2 separate regions of the Homo sapiens genome follow, and region 1 is linked to region 2. The links are contacts of gene promoters, found by promoter capture Hi-C in blood cells and fetal thymus (Javierre and others, 2016). All regions are on one chromosome and are shown on one strand. Each heading gives the region's core, a stretch centred on a gene start or on the middle of the fragment in contact. The rest is flanking DNA. Distances are from core to core; before and after follow the strand shown. Region 1 has its middle 18 kb from the start of PKNOX2-DT. Region 2 holds the start of HEPN1 (hepatocellular carcinoma, down-regulated 1).

Region 1 (5,223 bases), core at 41-2,540, 230 kb after region 2:
TGCCTCAGCCTCCCAAGTAGCTGAGACTACAGGCACCCACCACCACGCCTGGCTAATTTTTTGTATTTTGGTAGAGATGAGGTTTCACCACGTTGCCCAGGATGGTCTCGAACTTCTGAGATCAGGCAGTCTCGGCCTCCCAAAGTGCTGGGATCACAGGCGTGCACCACTGCCCCCAGCCAACTGCCTGGGTTTTAATCCTGCCTCCTCCATTTGTTAGCCAAGCGGCCCTGGACAAGTGACTATTTAATCTCTCTGTGCTTCAGTTTCCTCATCCATAAACTAGAATTAATAGAATCTACTTCATAGTGTTGTCGTGAGGATTAAAAGAGCTAATACACATAAAGCCCCTAAAACAACACCTGGGACATGGTTAGTATTAACTAACGCAATAAACACTAGCAATTATTAATGAAAAGCAAAGGAATTTTATAGAACTGAAGGCAAGCACCAGAAGAGGCAGTCCCAGAAGAGGCTTTGAAAGGTAAGGAGGGAGCTTATGGATGAACAAGCGAAGCATTTCCACAAGGAACACACGCAGTGATGCTGAGGAATGATGCAGCCAATCAGGTGGCAGGGAAAAGCTCACGACTTCTTGGAACCTGCAGAGCCCAAGTTGGCATTTTTTCCAGCAGAATCAGAAGCATCAATGGGGTGAGTCCGAAGTGTCGAAAAGTGGAGCAGCTTGTTCTCTGGGATCTTCAGCGTGTTTGCTTATGAAATGTCAGCCACGCTGGCTCCCCCGACCTCCTCAGCCTCATTCCACCCCCTCTTCATCTCACCCTCCAGGCTCCATCCATAAAGAAACGTGTTCAGGTCCTCTGACAGAACTTGCTCCTCTTCCCTCAGGGTCTTCACACATGTGGGCGTCCTGCCCTGAGTACTCTCTCCTGTTTGCACCTGTTAATCCTCCCTTCAGGTCTATATTTGGATGGCAGGTTCTCTGGAAAACCTTCCATCCCCCTGTAGCCTGGGTGGGGCGGCCCTAATCTGCGCTCCCATAACACTGTGCCCTTCCCTGCTTACCCTTGTATCTGTCAGCTCCAGCTATGTAGCAAAATGCCACAGACTGCGGGGCTTAAACAACAGACATTTATTTTCTTACAGTTCTGGAGGCTGGATGTTCAAGATCAACGTGTTAGCAAGGTTGGTTTCCGGGGAAGCCTCTCTGTTTGGCTTGTAGGTGGCTGCCTTCTCCCTATGCCCTCCCATGACCTCTTTGTGCACAGGTTGGCAGAATGAGGAGGAGGGAATCTCTGTTTTTTTCTCTTTTTATAAGGACACCAGTCCTATTGGATTAGACCCCCACCCTTGTAACTTTAACCTTAATTACTTCCTTAAAGACCCTATCTCTGCAGGACACGGTGGCTCACACCTGTAATCCTAGCACTTTGGGAGGCTGAGGCAGGCAGATCACTTGAGGTCAGGAGTTTGAGACCAGGCTGGCCAACCTGGTGAAACCCCGTCTCTACTAAAAACACAAAATTAGCCGGGTGTGGTGGCGGGTGCCTGTAATCCCAACTACTCGGGAGGCTGAGACAGGAGAGTCACTTGAACCAGGGAGGTGGAGGTTGCAGTGGGCCGAGATCACGCCATTGCACTCCAGCCTGGGCAACAAGAGTGAAACTCCATCTTAAAAAAAAAAAAAAAAAAAAAGAAGACTTATCTCTAAATACAGTCACATTAGTGGTTAAGGTTTCAACATATGAATTTGGTGGGGGGTGCAATTCAATCCATAACACCCCATTAGAAGATAAATTCCACGAGGGTAGGGCCTTGTCTATGGCTATGTGTTCCCCAGCACTGAGGCCTCACCCTGTCTCCTCATGATTCTCTAATTTCTACAGAACCTGCTCATAGCAAGGGTGCAATAAATATCTGTTGGGTGAATGAATGAATGAGTCAATTACTTGTGATGACAGCAGGAGTTTGGGAAACATAAGAACTCATAATCTAGTTTTAGGTTGTCTTTTTACAGAAGAGGAAACTGAGGCATGAGGATCCTTGCTAGTTCGTGGCAGAATGAGAGTTGGCAGTCAGATTCTCTGTCTCCCCCGCTACTCTGAGTCCATGCTTTTTTCATCTGGACCAAGAGTTGTCAGATAGCTGTATAAAACTGCCGGTTAAAAAAAAATCCTTGTCCAGACTTTCCTTAGACAAAAAAGTCTTTGGGCTGGGGGTAGTGGCTCATGCCTGTAATCCCAGCACTTTGGGAGGCCGAGGTGGGAGGATCACTGAGGTCAGGAGTTCGAGACCAGCCTGGCCAACATGGTGAAACCCCGTCTCTACTAAAAACACAAAAATTTGCTGGGCGTGGTGGCGGGCACCTGTAATTCCAGCTACTGGGGAGGCTGAGGCAGAAGAATCACTTGAACCCGGGAGGCAGAGGTTGCAGTGAGCCAAGATCGCGCCATTGCACTCCAGCCTGGGTGACAGAGTGAGACTCCATCTCAAAAAAAAAAAAAAAAAAAAAAAAAAAAAAAAGAAAAGAAAAAGAAAAAGAAAAAAGAAAGAAAAGTCTTTGGTTTTTCATTGACAAGCAAATGAAACTGTCTCTCTGAGGGTCTCCTCTCATCCTAGCAACTTAGTCTGCTAGGACTAAGCAATCTGTTAAGGCACTTGAAATGTGTGTCCTCCTTCCCCTCTCATTAGAGGCCTGGAATTTGGTCTGGGTGAGGTCAGGGATTTCCTTGCCACAGGCTTTGATTCTGAGCTGACTACCCAGGTGTGTGGCTCTTTAGAGTCCTGCCTCTCTGCTAATGGGTTTTGTTAACTGTTTGTCATTTGCTTATGCAAATCTACCTCTTTCTGCATTAAAATGAACCCAATTATAAAGTGAAATTTCACAACTAAACCACTTAGTGAAGGACATTAAGCGACCAGAAGGAATTGATTTGTAAAAACTTCAGCGATAATTACCAAATGTTTCTGAAATGTGACTAAGTTCTAGGTTTTTCTTTAAACAAACACACATACTTGCACATTTTCATATATGTACTGCACAGACACTTGCACGTATTTTCACACACCTGGTTTCCATCTTCTCACTATGGGACTTGTTCTTGCTCCTTCTCTGGGTCTAAATTTTCCCCAAATAGAGGAAATTCCACCAGCCATCAGATCATGTCTGCAAAGTTCTTGGAAACCTTCCAAAAGAAATGGCCACTGGGCCGAGGAAGCTGGGGCGGGGGGCAGGAAAATAGAAGAAGGCATAGTGGTTTTAATAAAGTCTCTTGACCACTTTGGTGATTGATTGATATATTTTGGCATTTGCTTCCCTGCTCTGCTGTAATCGATAGCAGTTGTAGGCCGAGGAGCAGGAAAGGGTGGGAACGTGGGATGGGGGCAGCATTGATTGATCTTTACGGGAAACAGCCTTGCCTGGTGATTGCAGTGCTATGGCACAAGAAACAGGACCTTGTGGTCCCAGGGAAAGGTGACTTTCCTTATACCCCCTCCCTCCCCTGCCAGGCAGGATGGCATGGCGTGCAGAAACTTGGAGATGGATAAGGATACACTGGCATCCACCTAAAAAAATGAGCCATGCTGGTGTTTGGGAGAGCCAAAGTCACACTCACCTCTCCCCTTGCACCCTCAGTTCGAGCGCAGAAATCATAGTCTCCTGGGCTGCTGCAGGACAGGGTGGGAAGAGTCTTTAAGGGTGAAGAGGTGATGAAATGCTTACGGGTTCCAGGTTACATCTATATCCAGGAATGACTCCAACTCCCTTGGCAGCATGCTGCTGCTCAGACCGTATAATGTAGAGGTGACTTCAGCACAGACTCTGGAGCCAGCTTGCCTGCATTCAAAGCCGGCCCTCCACTTACTGTGCGACCTTAGATGGGTTAACTCACCTTCCTTGTACCTTGATTCTCCCATCAGTAAAATGGAGATGACAACAGTACCTATTTCCTAGGGTTGCTGTGATAGTGATGAGAGTTAATGCATGCAAAGGACTTGGAAGGGCTCTGGCATAAAGGAAATGCTATGTATTAATATATGTTGCTATTATTATCTGATGGTGGTGAACACCCAGGCTGGCATCCATGATTTATGGGTGGAAACTTAAAGGCACAAGTTTCTCTAATCAAACAGGGTCATCACAGCTTTTGTCTTCTGGTGCTGAGAACACAAGGCTCAGGACTTGGCATCTGCTAAATAATTCTCTTAGTGCATCAGCCTATTAGCTACAGGATTTCTCAACCCTTTTAGATTAATACTTTTTCCTCAAAGCTTTTAAAAATAGCAGAAAAATAGGAATAATTTGGATTGGGAATGATAGTTTCAGTGTCCAAGAGGTACAATTAAGACAGATATTCATTCATTTAACAAACACCAAACTCCTACTAAGTGCAAGACAGTTTCAACTGATGTGATGGTTTCCATCCATGAACCTGAACTTAGTGCAGATACACTCAGATGTGTAATCACAACCCTCTGCAATGTCATAAGTAGTTTTCATGTAACTGGAGATCCCTCTGTCAGAGCAACATGCTCAAAATAGAAAATGGTTTAAGGAGCATTTGCCACATAACATTTTTGTTGAAAACATATTCATTTTTGAAGTATAGTTGTATTTTCTTCTATTGACATGGGTGAATGTTTGGTTTTTAGAAATTCATTTTAGCACATGAAGTGACTTTGGGGCTTATTTTCTTTCTAATCATAGAGCTGGATGCCGTGACTAACGGCAGCTGGCAGATTGGCAAGTGAGTACCAAGGGACCCAGGTTGAGGGGTTCCATGACAGGCTCCTAAGAAGTGAGAACTGGAAGGAGCCCCAGGGATTATTGAGGTCATCCCTTTCATTTGAAGGCTGAGCCCTTGGTGGTGGGTATGGCTTTTCACAGCTGAATTGGAACCCGGGCCTCTTGATTCCGAGCATGGTGCTATTTCCCGTGCTGTGAGCCTGTTGTTGATGCCCTCCCAGCTCTGCAGCAGGCCCTTTGCCTTCTTCAAATCGCCTGCTGATCTTAGGTTCCTGTATCAGGCTAAGTTATTATCTGATAATCAGTTCAAGTCCATGAAGATGCTCTGAGTACTTGACTTGGTGCCAAGCATTGTGTTAGGGCCAGGATATCAAAATAAGATATGAAACCTACCAAGGAGACTGTGACAGACGGTATTAGTGTGCCCAATTGTTTGCTGCCTTGCCCTGTGAAAGGCTTATACTGATGTCAGACCTGGTCATGTGGCTTGCTTTGGCCAGTGAAATTTGAGCAGA
Region 2 (5,978 bases), core at 3,411-5,910:
TTAACATCATGCCCCTACTTTTAACTTTTTGTTGTTTCTACTTATATCTTATTGTACTATGTCTTGAAAAGTTGTAATTATTATTTTTGATCAGTTCATCTTTTAGTCTTCCCACTCAAGATATGAGTAGCTTACACACCACAATTACAGTGTTTTGATATTCTGTCTTTTTGTGTACTTACTATTACTAGTGAGTTTTGTGCCTTCGGATAATTTCTTATTTTTTATTAAGGTGCTTTTCTTTCAGATTAAAGAACTCCCTTTAGCTTTCTCATAGGATAGGTCTGGTGTTGATGAAATCTCTCAGCTTTTGTTTGTCTGGGAAAGTCTTGAATTCTCCTTCATGTTTGAATAATATTTTCACCAGACATACTATTCTGCAATAAAAGTTCTTTTTCCTTTGGCACTTTCAATATATTATGTCACTCTTTCCTGGCCTGCAAGGCTTCCACTGAGAAGTCTGCTGCTAGGCATATTGAAGCTCCACTATATGTTATTTGTTTCTTTTCTCTTCCTACTTTTAGAATCCTTTCTTTATTATTGACCTTTGGGAGTTTGATTATTGAATGTCTTGAGTTAATGTTATTTGGGTCAAATCTGCTCAGTAACCTTCTTGCACTTGAATATTGATATCTTTCTCTTGGTTTGGGAAGTTTTCTGTTATTATCCCTTTGAATAAACTTTCTACCCTCATCTCTCGATTTTCTCTTGAAGGCCCAAAACTCTTAGATTTGCCCTTTTGAAGTTATTTTCTTGATATCGTAGGCATACTTTCATTCTCTTCTATTCTTCTTCCTTTTGTCTCCTATAACTGTGTATTTTCAAATAGCCTGTCTTCAAACTCACTAATTCTTTCTTCTGCTTGATTAATTCCACTATTAACAGATTCTGATGTGTTCTTCAGTATTTCACTTGCAGTTTTTAACTCCAGAATTTCTACTGGATTCTTTTAAATTATTTCAATCTCTTTGTTAAATTTATCTGATAGGATTCTGAATTCCTCTCTGTGTTCTCTTGAATTTCTTTGAGTTTCCTCAAAACAGCCATTTTGAATTATCTGTCTGAAAGGTCACACATCTGTGTCTCTCTGGGATTAGTCACCGGTGACTTATTTAGTTCATTTGGTGAGGTCATATTTCCTGAATGGTCTTGATGCTTGTGGATGTTCATTGGAGTCTGGGTTTGTTTGCACCCTTCCTTCCTGGGAAGGCTTTCTAGGTATTCAAAGGAACTTGGGTGTTGTGATTTAGTTTTTGGTGACTGCAGCTGTATCTGCATTAGGGGGCACCCCAAGTCCAGTAACACTGTGGCTCCTGCAGACTTGAAGAGATACCACCCTATGGTCTTAGATAAGATCTAGAAGAATCCTCTGGATTATCAGACATAGACTCTTATTCTCTTCCTTTTCTTTCTCCAAAACAAGCAGTCTCTCTCTCCTCTCCTCTCCTCTCCTCTCCTCTTCTCTCTCCCTTTCTCTCTCTCTCTCCTTCTCTCTCTGTTTGTGCTGAGCTGCCTGGAGCTGGAAGAAGGGTGACACAAGTATCCCTGTGGCCACCATCACTGAGACTGTGCTGCGTCAGACCTGAAGCCAGCACAGCACCAGGTGTCACCAAAGGCCTGTGGTAACCACTGTCTGGCTACCAGCTATGTTCGCTCAAGGCCCTAAGGCTCTAGAGTCAGCAGGTGGCAATGCCAGCCAGGCTTGTATCCATTACTTCAGGGTGCCAAGTTTCCACCAGTCCTGGGCAGGTCCAGAGATGTCACCTGGGAGCCAGGGCCTGGGGTAAGAAACTTTAGGAATCTACCTGGTGCTCTATTTTACTCCAGCTGAGCTGGCACCCAAGCCCAAGGCAATGTCTTTCCCACTCTTCCCTCTCCTTTCCTCAAGCAGAGGTGTCTCTTCCCTTGGTCACCACTGCCCCAGGCCCATGGTCAATACTGCCTGGCTACTGCTGATGTTCATTCATGGATCAAGGGCTCTTGAGTCAGCTTATGAATGCTGCTAAGCATAGGACTCTCCTTTCTAGGCAGTGGGCTCCACTATGGCCACTAGGGCAGGTCCAGAAATGCCATACAAGAGCTAAACCCTGGAATTGGGGACCCCAAGAGCCCACTTGGTTCTCTACCGCACTGAGGCCACACCGGTACCTAAGCTGCAAGACAAAGTCCCCTTTATCCTTCCTTCAACTTTTCTCAAGCAGAAGGAGCCCCTTCCCATAGCCACCACAGCTGGAAAGGTGCTTGGTGACATCTGAAGCCAACATGTCTCTTAGTCTCACCCAAGGCCAATGGCAAGTACTGCTTGGGTTCTATTGCAAATTATTGAGGGCCCTTGGGCTCTAGAGAGAGCAGGTGATGAATGCTGCCAGGACTGGGTCATTCCCTTCAAACCAATGGGTTCCCTTCTGGCCCAGGGTGTCTAGAAATGTTGTCTGGGAGCTAGGGCCTGAAATGGGGGACTCAGGACTCTGTCTTATGCCCTATCCTACTGTGGCTGAGCTTGTCTTATGCCCTGTCCTACTGTGGCTGAGCTGATATCCAAGTTGCAATACACAGTCCTGTTTACTCTTCCTGCTCCTCTCCTCCAACCACAGAAAGGAGTCTTTTTCAAAGCTGCAAGCTGTGATGCCTGGTGTTGGCAGAGGGATGATGCAAGCACTCCCTTGGCTGCACCAGCTGGTGTCTCACTAGATCATATGCTCAAGTCCACTGGCTTCAAGCCCAGCACAGCATCAGGAATCCCCCCTAGAATTGCAGTCCTTGTGTCCTAGACAGACTTTTAAAAGTTTATTTAGGACCCCAGAGCACTTTAACCCATGGTCGTGAGTCTTTTTGGAATTCAGGTTCCAACCACTGGGATGTGTAATTCCTCTCTGGCGAGGGCTGGTCTAAATGCTCCTTCTGTGGGTGCTGGCTGAGTTCTGCCTGGTGTTGTTTCTCCCTGTGACAGGGCAGCACTGCGTTCCAATGCAAAGCCCCACAATGACTGCACTCTCCCTCCCGCAAGTGCAGAGATTCTCTCTCTGTTCCATGCGGCAGCTGCCGGGTGATGAGGGAGGGGTGGTGTCAGCAATTCAAGACTGTCTTTCTTACCTTCTTCAGTGCCTCTTTCAGTGATATGAAGTTAAAACCAGGTATTGTGATCACTCATTGGATGTTTGGTTGTTATGAGGGTGCTTTTTTTGTGTGGACAGTTGTTCAATCTGGTGTTTTTGCAGGAAGACAATCAGTGAAGGCTTCTATTCAGCCATCTTGCTTCACCTCCCTTGGTAATCTCATATTTAATGAGTGCTAAGTACTTTGAGCTCACTGTGCTTTTAAATTTTGTTTTACTTCTGACTGCTTAAAAATTTCCCCCATCTCTGGCAGGGAAGTGGCTCATGCCTGTAATCCCAGCACTTTGGGAGGCCAAGGTGGGCGGATCATGAGGTCAGGAGTTTGAGATCAGCCTGGCCAACATAGTGAAACCCTGTCTCTACCAAAAATACAAAAATTAGCTGGACATGGTGGCACGTGCTTGTAGTCCCAGCTACTCGGGAGGCTGAGGCAGGAGAATCACTTGAACCCAGGAGGCAGAGGTTGTAGTGAGCCTAGACTGCGCCATTGCACTCCAGCCTGGGTGACAAGAATGAGACTCTGTCTGAAAAAAAAAAAAAAATTCCCCCATCTCTTGAAGCCAGCAATGCAAAACAAATATCATTTAAGCAAGACCTAGTTGTTTTGAAACAGGAAGACCTCTCAAACATCTAGTCTCAAGTATTTAGCAGAGAAGTTCCACATATCACTTTTTACCTGTTGCAATCTGGCTTTAACCCCTACTACATGTCTGAAACTACTTATGCCAAGTCACTCAATGTTTTCATTGTTGCCAAATTTAACATGCACTTTTAACTTCATTTCATATGTGAGCCCCCTGCCCTTGTAGTCCCGAATGCTCCCTTTTTCTTGAAACTCTCTTGTTCTTTTGATTGTGTGATATAGTTATCTCCTATATATTCTCCTATCTTGCTGGCTGTGCCTTTTAAGCCTTCTTGGTGAAGTCCTTTTAAATTTTCTACACATACTGATGCCTCAGAAATCTATCTGCAGCTTTCTTCACCTTCTACTTTGTATACTTTCCTGAAATAATTTCATCAACTGCTAGGCTCAGTACCCTGAATTCCCCCCCATCGTGTCTTGCACTTCCAAGCTTTTATACATGCTTCTCCCTCTGCTTGGAGTGTGTCCTCTCATACTTTTAAAAACCAGATTAACTAACAAGTCTTTCTAAGAAAGACTCAACTCAGGTCTGTTCTCCTCCAAGATGCCTTTGCTGACATCTAATCTACATGCTCCCAGAGCACCTTGTATCTACTTCTGCCATTGCATTTTACACACTATATTGTAATCTGTTTACTGATCTGTCTTCCTGACATAGTTATGCTGTATCAGCAGTGTCTAGCACAGGGCCTAGTCCATGGTAGGTAAACAAATGTTTGTCGAATAAATAAAAGAACACCTGAATAAGTAAATGAATGAACGGGTAAGTGATTTTGGAACGGACAATTTGGGGTTTGGAAAGAGGGTAAAGGAGGTGAAAGGAGAAGAAGAGAAATGACTGGTATATTTAAGCAGCTTGTTTTGTTACCCTTGTTTATGTGGAATAAAGTTGTCATTTCATTTCATCAAAAGTTTATTGAGCATCCAGTATGTGCTAGGCACTCTGCTGGATGCTAGTAATACAAAGATGAAGATGAAAACAACACAAAAACAAACCCCACTTCCTTACTTACCCCTCCCCACCCCCAATTTAAGGCAGATTTGGCTTAAGCCTGGCAAGCTGGCCCCTCAGGGATTCAGCACCAGGGTATGGCATGTTCTCATCTCACCCTAACCTTCACCTGTGCATCTCAAGGCTGACCAGCAGGTACTCCTTATCCAAGTCCTGCTGCCTCTTCCACCTTCTTGAGAAACTTTTCCCCTACATGCATTATCTCATTATGGATGAGGCACCTGGGAAGTTTAGGGGAGCTGCGAAGGCACACCTGCTCAAATGAGCCTGGGGAAGTGCCGAGGGACAGGGAGCTGAGACAGGCATGCTGTGGGGTTCAGGGCAGAGGGGGCAAACTAGAAATGTCAGTGCCTTTGGGGCTGAGACAAAACTTGACCTGGTGTGGAGGTGATGGGTAACTGGGGCCTTGGAATTGCTCCATGGGTTGATGGCGAATCAGAGCTGGAGTTTAGGAGACTAGGGATGCAAGGACCCTTGGAGGCATTAAGGAGGAGGGAATGGAATACACAGAGGGCCTCCTTCTCTTTCAGCTTTTTAATTGCCCTCTCTCCTCACACAGTAGATTACTGCCACTCCTATGAACTGTTCAATAGGCGGTGGCATGGGCATGTCCTGGCTACACAGCGGCCCAGCCTCTTTATTTTGATGTTAGTGTGATTAGGGAGTCTGCCCTTTTTCTGTGCCCTGGGACCTGAGCATGTGGGAGCAGGGCAGATGGGTGGCAGGAGGCCAGGGGTTGGATCATGTTCCCCCCAAATGCTGGGAAGCAATAAGCCTCCTCCTCCCCCCACCATTTCTCTGGAGATTAGGACTTATTCTCACAGCTGGAGGAAGCTCAACAACTTTCCTGAGGACAATGATTGTTTGAAAGGCTTGTTTTGTAAGGAAGCCAGGAGGAATATATGAGTTTGATGAGCTAAAACAGTTCCTCATTTGGTCTAGTTTTCGGGCCAGGGGAGTAAGTGAAATTCACTTCTCTATAAGAATAAGCCCATCCATCTCTTTTATTCATGAACAGAGACAGAAAGAGTGCTTGGCATGGCATGCCTCCGAGGGAGGCTGTGGGAGGAGGCCAAGCTGGCAGGCTCGGGTTCTTTGCCCTTGCTAGCGCCCAGGTCAGAGGGAAAAGGAATGTACTCGTACCCTTCCCTCACCACCTTGTAGGTCCCCAGGTACCAGGTGCCCAGGGAAGAAGGCCTTCACAATG

What was found. The method cuts DNA at HindIII sites, captures the fragments that hold promoters and counts their contacts. A CHiCAGO score of 5 or more calls a contact.
Region 1: a fragment that was not itself captured here is called in contact with the fragment with the promoter of HEPN1 in region 2 in 1 of 17 cell types (naive CD4 T cells); the score reaches 6.0 in naive CD4 T cells.

Annotation. Positions count from the first base shown.
Region 1 is chr11:125,143,754-125,148,976 of GRCh38, forward strand. No RefSeq gene overlaps it. Among named protein-coding and RNA genes, the nearest start is that of PKNOX2-DT, 18 kb to the right of the region's middle. The HindIII fragment of the contact is 5,881 bases long and covers 1-4,231 here.
Region 2 is chr11:124,914,590-124,920,567 of GRCh38, forward strand. HEPN1 (hepatocellular carcinoma, down-regulated 1) reads left to right here and starts at 4,661. Exons shown (of 1, transcript NM_001037558.4): 1 at 4,661-5,978. The coding sequence starts at 5,162. The coding sequence ends at 5,428. HEPACAM (hepatic and glial cell adhesion molecule) reads right to left here. Exons shown (of 7, transcript NM_152722.5): 7 at 4,616-5,978. The region is part of intron 1 of LOC107984406 (a long non-coding RNA gene); the gene reads left to right. The HindIII fragment of the contact is 3,231 bases long and covers 4,188-5,978 here.